Regions from separate parts of the Homo sapiens genome. Here region 1 is linked to region 2. Evidence: promoter capture Hi-C in 16 types of primary human blood cells and fetal thymus (Javierre and others, 2016). All regions are on one chromosome and are shown on one strand. Each heading gives the region's core, a stretch centred on a gene start or on the middle of the fragment in contact. The rest is flanking DNA. Distances are from core to core; before and after follow the strand shown. Region 1 has its middle 30 kb from the start of OSTC. Region 2 holds the start of COL25A1 (collagen type XXV alpha 1 chain).

Region 1 (3,903 bases), core at 238-2,737, 620 kb after region 2:
TCTTATATTTCACAATATACAGTACAAGACAGTTGACTTGGCACTTTCTACTTCCTCCCTAGCTGGATCAATGAGTTCATTAGGTGCCCTTTCTATGCCCTCCCACCACCCCTGCCTCACATGGTTAGAGCATTAGCAAATTTCGCCTTTACCTAACAAAGGTCCCTTCTCTTCAGCCTCTAAGGTCATTGACCTCACTGTCTTGAAGCATCAACAGCTCCACTTTCTTTTTTTTTTTTTTTGAGACGGAGTCTCGCTCTGTCGCCCAGGCTGGAGTGCAGTGGCGCGATCTCGGCTCACTGCAAGCTCCGCCTCCCAGGTTCACGCCATTCTCCTGCCTCAGCCTCCCAAGTAGCCGGGACTACAGGCGTCCGCCACCGTGCCCAGCTAATTTTTTGTATTTTTAGTAGAGACGGGGTTTCACCGTGTTAGCCAGGATGGTCTCGATCTCCTGACCTCTATCCGCCTGCCTCGGCCTCCCAAAGAGCTGGGATTACAGGCGTGAGCCACCGTGCCCGGCCAACAGCTCCACTTTCATTGTCTTCTCCAGGCCTTTCTGGCTTTTATTTTTCATCTCTTCAAGACCCTGGAAGTTTCAATCCACTGTTTGGTCCTAAAGCCACACATTCATCCCAGTTCTTGATTGCTCATTAAAAGCAAGCCGAACATTTAGTGGCTGAAAACAGTTTATTCCTATTTCCCAAGGTCCTGCAGGCTGACTGGACTCAGCTGAGTAGTTCTCCCTTGGGGTATCTCACACAGTTGTAGTCAGATGGCAGCTGGGCTAATGTCCATGAAGGCTCCTTTGCAGGACTGGCAGTTGATTGTAGCAGCCAGCTCCGAGCTCAGCTGATGTTGACAGGATTGGCGACATGTGGTTTTTCCATGTGTTTTGGGGTGCTCATGATCCTGCAGCTGGGTTCCAAGAGGGTGCATCCCAAGAACCAGCATTCTCAGACGCAGGAAGCAGAAGCTGCCAAGCTGTTTAAAAACTATGCCCAGCACTGGCAGTCACTTTTGCCATCTTTAACCAGGAAAAGCGATGACAAGGCTGGCCACATTCCACGAACAAGAGAAATCATCTTCTCTTAATAAGGAGCAGCAAGGTCACTTTGTATAAAACATATGAGTTAGGAGTTACTGCTGCAGTCACTTTTGGAAATGACAATCTGCCATTTATAGATGTTTTTAAAAATTCCTATCAACTCAAAAATAATTAGAAGGGGAAATAAACCTTGAAAAGTTAGACAAATAGAATAAAGTGAAGAGGAGATATAGAAAAGTCCAAATATATAATACAGACAGTCCCCGACTTACATTAGTTAAATTTATGACAACTTTATGACAGTGTGAAAGTGTGAAAGTGATAGACATTCAGTAGAAATCATACTTCTAGTACCCATACAACCATTCTGTTTTTCATTTTCAGTAGCATTTTCAATAAATTACGTGAGATATTCAACACTTTATTATAAGATAAACTTTGTGTTAGATGACTTTTCCTAACTAGGGGCTATGTAAGTGTTCCGATCATATTTAAGTTAGACTAGGTTAAACTATGATGTTCAATAGATTAAGTATATTAAATGCATTTTTAACTTTCTATATTTCCAACTAGTAATGGGTTTATTCGGACATGACTCCATCGTAAATTGAGGAGCATCTGTAATCATAATTCCTGAAAGTAGACTGAACTCACTCATTAAAAGACAAGATTGACAGAATAAAACAAAAATAAATCTATATGATATTCATAAGTGATACCCCTAAAATATAAGAACGAAAAAAGTTTCAAAGAAAGTTATAGAAAACAATACATGGCAAAACAACATCTGCAAAGGGTTGAGTCAGCTATATGAACATGAGAGTCCATCAACTTTGAGACAAAAAATTACTATGCTATGAGGAGAGTCACTACACAATGATGAAAACTTGAATTCACCAGAAAGATATGACAATCAGATTTTGTAAAACTGACAATATATTTAAAAATTACAATCATGGTAGAAGATACAACACACAACTTTATTATTATTATTATTATTATTTTTCTTTTTTGAGACGGAGTCTCGCTCTGTCACCCAGGCTGAGAGTGCAGTGGTACGATCTCGGCTCACTACAAGCTCCGCCTCCCGAGTTCAAGCGATTCCCCTGCCTCAGCCTCCCGAGTAGCTGGGACTACAGGCACACACCACCATGCTCGGCTAATTTTTGTGTTTTTAGTAGAGATGGGGTTTCACCGTGTTGGCCAGGCTGGTCTCGAACTCCTGACCACAGGTGATCCACCCGCCTCGGCCTTCCACAGTACTGAGATTACAGGCGTGAGGCACCGTGCCTGGCCCACAACTTTAAATTATTGATGTGTCAAGCAATAACTCAATTGATGTGTCAAGCAAAACAAAATGATATTTAGGTATTCATATATATGTGTTAACACTATTCTTTAAAAAGCAAAGAAGTGCTTTTATATGCATTGAAATACAAAGATAAAAAAGCAAAGATGTGATAAACACCAATTCAGGGCAGTAGATGCTTCTAGAAGGAAGGGAGGGAAGTGGATAAGGATAGAATACAAAGATAGTATTAAGAGTATTGGCAATATTTTAATTCTTATATTGGGTTATAGGTTCACAGGACTTTATGCATTTTATTATGCTTTATAATGTATGACTGCTTCATATATGTTTGAGTATATTAAATATTATAAAGTAAAATGTATGTAAAAGGAGGCCATGTGCTGTGGCTCACACCTATAATCCCACACTTTGGGAGGCTGAGATGAGAGGATTGCTTGAGCCCAGGAGTTCAAGACCAGCCTGAGCAATATAGTGAGACCTCATCTCTACAAAACAAAACAAACAAACAAAATTTAAAAACTAGCCAGGTGTGGTGGCACATGACTTTAGTCCCAGCTACTCGGGAGGCTGAGGCAGAAGGATTGCTTGGGCTCGGAGGTCAAGGCTGCAGTGAGCCAAGATTGTGCCATTGCACTCCAGCCTGAGAGACAGAGCAAGACTGTCTCAAAAAAAAAAAGAAAAGAAAAATTACATGACATCAAGCTTTATAGGAGAAACAAAAGAATGTAAAATGACAAACTACAACTTAATTGAATTAACAATCTGAGTCCTTTTCCATAATCCATTGCTTTAAAAATTTTTTTCTTCTGTCATTTTTTTTCAACCTGATAGGGGCTCTTAAGCTGTGTCTCCGGATAATGTACCTTAGGACATTCATGAGCTCCCTGAAATAACAGGGAAAACTCTGTGTGTGCGAGCGTGTGTGTGTGTGTGAGAGAGAGAGTGTGTGTGTGTGTGGTAGAGGGGTAACAAGGAAATAATAGCATCCACCTCTCAGTGTTATGATACAGCTGAAAGAAGCTAATATATATAAAGAGTTTGGCACCGTTCGTGATACAGAATGTACGTGCTTTGATTATTTCTCTTTTTATTGTAACTTTAATCAAATCTTCAATTCATCCATGACCCAAAAGATTAAGCATCACTCTTAGAAGAAGCAACTCCTTCCCTTGATTCTGTGTATTTGGATCTCATTTATCCATTGTAAATAAGCAAAATGATCATGAGCTCACTTTTTCCACTGCAACATACAGGCACATAAAGAGTTAGATTTTGGAGACAAGTAAGTAAAAAGCTTACACCTTCAAAAGAAAAACTAGCTTTAAAATGTTTCCTATTGAAATATTTCTTACAAACATACATAAAGTGCACAAATCCTAAGTGTACAACTCAGTGGGCTTTCCCAAAGGGTACACGCTCATCTAAGTAGTATCCAAATGAAAAAACAACATTACCAGCAACCCCCTTTACATCCCTTTCTGGTCACTACCCCCACCTCTCAAAGTAACCATTATCCATAGGAAAGATTGACTTTTAATAATGAATT
Region 2 (3,760 bases), core at 1,042-3,541:
TCTCCATACTTCAGAGAAACTGATGTGGAGAGTTTGAGAGGAAGAATGAGCAATGAGGCTAGTGAGATGGTAGACAGGGGGCTTTGTTGTGGGGGTTGAAAGATGTAAGATCTTTGTCCTAAGGACAACCAGAATTATTGAAGGACTCTAAATAGATGAGGAGAGGAGGGCAAGGGAGAAGTCAGGGCCGGCAACTGGGTATTTTGGCTTGGGGAGACTGGATGGATGGCAACTCCATTGGCTGAGATGGGAAACAGAGGAAGCAGACAGAATTTGGAGGTAAGCTGCAGGTTACATTGGAAATGAGAGTGAGACATCCAAACGGAGATGACAAAGAGGCAACTGGCTATATGGATCTGAGGTTCAGGAGAGAGGTTTGGGCTTTTGATATGAATTTATGACTCATCAGTGTAATGGGAACTCTACTGGAGAGAGTATACAGAGAAGATGGAATAGACAGAGACCCAAGGAGCACCAACTTTCAGAGAAATGAAAGAGGAAAAGCCTGCAAATGAGACTAAGGAACAGCTAGAGGTTACAGAAAGAGTTTGTACATTAAAATATTTGTACCCATTATTTGGGTCCTGTTATTGGAAACATGTTTAATCACAATTAAATGTGACTTGAAATTTATCTGTTTTAAAATTTATTTAAAAACGTTGTTTATATTTAAAAGAGGAACAGTAAATCCTCACATCGCAGGGTTATGAGGTTCAAATACAAAAAGTATTTGAAAATATTTTGGAAAGTATTATACCAGTGGTTCTCAAACTTTAGTAGTATATATCAAAATCATTTGGAGGGCTTGTTAAAACACAGATTGCTGTTTTTTTTAAAATTATTATTTCAGTAGTGGTAGTAGCAGTTTCTGATTCAGATCTGTGGTAGGAACCTAGAATTTTAATGTCCAAGTTCTCAGGTGATGCTGATGTTATTGGTCTAGGACCATCCTTTGAGAACCACTGTGTAATACAAATGAATTATGGTTTTGACTTTATAGCCAAATTCATTGAGTTTTCCTCCAATGTTAGTCTCTTTCTTCCTCTAATGCTGTTATTTCCTTACCTTGCTTCACACCTAGCAATATCCGTTTACACATGTGAAAGACCAACTTAGTGAAGTATTTTGTTGACTGTTTACAATAGTAAGCAACGACTTCAGGTTAGCTTAATTAAGGAGAATAGGAAAAATATATGGTTTTTTTTTTTATAGGGAGATAAGAAGGAACTCTTTGGAATAAGAGGTGGGATTTCTGTTTTCCCCAAAGTCAATTAGATGTCAAATGCTACTTGTTACCAACTTTCCAAAATCCCATTAGAGACCTTGTAATTTGATCCAGAGAGAACAGCATTAAGAGTCAGGTAAAAGGAAAAACTGACTTCATTCTTCATTCCTTTCCTAAATCCTGAGAAATGTGTATACCTCAACACTCCCTTTTCCAATCCCGCAAAACAGGGAATCAGGAAAACACATTAGCACCCTAGTACAGACTAGGAATACAGAGCTGGGAGGAGACTCAGTGCCGTCAAGACAAGGAAACTGGGGGAGGGGAAGGAAAACTTCCCCTCGTTGGACAATCTGAGGGCTGCAGTGGGAAGAGAAGGGAAGTGGGGAAATGTACCTCAGACGTCGGCCAGACACTTTGCCTCTGGGCATGTGGGAAAGTGAGGGAGGAGGGAAAAGCGCTGCACCACAGCGAGATAGCAACAGCTCCTGCGGCTGCTTTTGAGTGAAGATCAGTAGAGATAGAGCGTGCCGCTTCACATCTTCCTCCCGGAGGCCATTTCTCCATTTTTATGTGGGATAAAAAGGGGGCGCTGGGCTGAGTCAGTATAAGCCAAAGTTGCCGCCTCTTGCGCAGCCGACCCCGCTTCGGCCCCGGCCCAGGCCAGAGAGGTGGCCCTCGGAGATGCTGAAGTTACTCCGCGCAGGGGGAGGGGTCGCCAGGCTCCTCTCCAATCACGGTGGCCGCTCCAGCTATTTGCATACATTATGCTAATAACAGACCTCCTGCCCCGCTCCCACCCAAGCTTCCCGCCTCCCTTGGGGGTTCCCCGGGCCGGCCCGCGGGCTGGGCCAAGGTGAATACATTATGATAATAAGGCGGGCTCCTGCTTTGCCTTCGGAAGGGGGGCGCGCAGCAGCGGGAGCGGCAGGCCGGACGCCGGGCGCCGGGAGGGGGTCGGGGGAGGGACGTCGTGCTCGGAGCGCGCGCGCACTCACACACTCACACACACACTCACGCGAGCATCGCGAAGGGTATTTAAGGATCGCGCACGCGGGGCTGCGGAGATCCTTCGGGCAGCCGCGACTTCGGCTTCGCGAGTAGCATTGGTTCCTTGGGTTTATTTCGTTTTCCTCTCTCTTCTCCACCTTAGTCGCCCCTTTCGCGCTGCGCTGTAGCGTGCTCTCACAGCCTTTTTGCCTTGAACTGAATGCAGGTGGGAAACAGGTCGGCGTGCCGAAAGACACCGAGTAGGTAGAAATAAGGCAAACTCACAGAGGCGCAACAGGTCCGGTCCTCCGTGGCCAGGGCGAGCCGCGGCCCCGCGTGGCGCCTCGGCCGTTGCCCTCGGACCCTGAGCGGCCACTGTTGGGGCCCTCGAAAGAGGTGTCGGTCCTCTGGGAGTCGGAAGAGCTGTCTGGGTGGGTTTCGTCTTGCTTTTTACCCCACCGCCACCCAGTCCCCGGACGGAGGGTGCTTTTCACTTCCAGCTGGGAGGAGAGAAGAAAGCGGGGATGGTGCACGCCTGCGGGTCTGGACGCTGAGCAAGGCAGGGGTCCGTATCCGCTCGTGGGCTTGACTCCACCAACTAGTTGTGCAGCCACAGGGACTGAACTTTGGAGGAATCGACCTTTTTCTTTCCTTTTAGGATTATTTGAGGTGTAGAGGGTGGGAAGCGAAGCCGAGACGGCCGACCCCGCCACGATGCTGCTGAAGAAGCACGCAGGGAAAGGAGGGGGCCGGGAGCCCAGATCCGAGGACCCGACCCCTGCCGAACAGCATTGTGCCCGGACCATGCCCCCGTGTGCCGTCCTGGCGGCCCTCCTGTCAGTGGTGGCCGTGGTGTCTTGCCTGTACCTGGGTGTGAAAACCAACGACCTCCAGGCGAGGATCGCCGCTCTCGAATCCGCCAAAGGGGCCCCTTCCATTCATCTGCTGCCTGATACCCTGGATCACCTCAAGACTATGGTGCAAGAGAAAGTGGAGCGACTTCTGGCTCAGGTGTGAGAGGCTGGGGTATTTTGCACGTGGGTAACATCTTGTACAAGCGTGACTCTGTGTGCATGACTAGCCGCTACCCTTACTGTACCCATACTTGGTGTGGCTGTGTGTGTGCGCGCGCGTGCATGTGTTGGCCAAGGATCTATGCTCACTGTAGCATATATTTATATGTGCACATCCCTTGATGTCCCCATCCCTATCTCTAATCTTCCCTCACTCTCTCTTAATGTTTGCGTGTTAAACACATAGGAAGGTCTAAAAGGGTTCGGAAAGGGCATTTTATCTCTTTTTAGTTGTCCTAAGTCAAACCCAATTGTGGAGAGAATATTTCTTGCAGAGATAGCATCTGTTAAATCTTTTACATGTTGTAAGATGGTTAGGGTCATAGATGTTATTAATATATAAAAAAGGTAATCACTCTTAAATGTAAAATAATGTCATATATAATTTAAAATCAATAATTTCACACGTTGAATCTTTTCATATTAAAAGTTTAAACTTTTTTTTTTTAAAGTAGCTTTATTTTTGGTAAAG

What was found. Contacts are between HindIII fragments. The CHiCAGO score rates a contact against its expected background, and 5 or more counts as called.
Region 1: a contact is called between a fragment that was not itself captured here and the fragment with the promoter of COL25A1 in region 2, in 1 of 17 cell types (M2 macrophages). The highest score is 6.9, in M2 macrophages.

The regions. Positions count from the first base shown.
Region 1 is chr4:108,678,477-108,682,379 of GRCh38, reverse strand. No RefSeq gene overlaps it. Among named protein-coding and RNA genes, the nearest start is that of OSTC, 30 kb to the right of the region's middle. The HindIII fragment of the contact is 3,149 bases long and covers 1-3,061 here.
Region 2 is chr4:109,301,189-109,304,948 of GRCh38, reverse strand. It overlaps COL25A1 (collagen type XXV alpha 1 chain), which reads left to right and starts at 2,291. Exons shown (of 38, transcript NM_198721.4): 1 at 2,291-2,780; 2 at 2,874-3,226. The coding sequence starts at 2,930. COL25A1-DT (COL25A1 divergent transcript) reads right to left here and starts at 1,914. Exons shown (of 3, transcript NR_160939.1): 1 at 1,622-1,914. RefSeq lists an enhancer at 1,437-2,219. The HindIII fragment of the contact is 6,447 bases long and covers 2,033-3,760 here.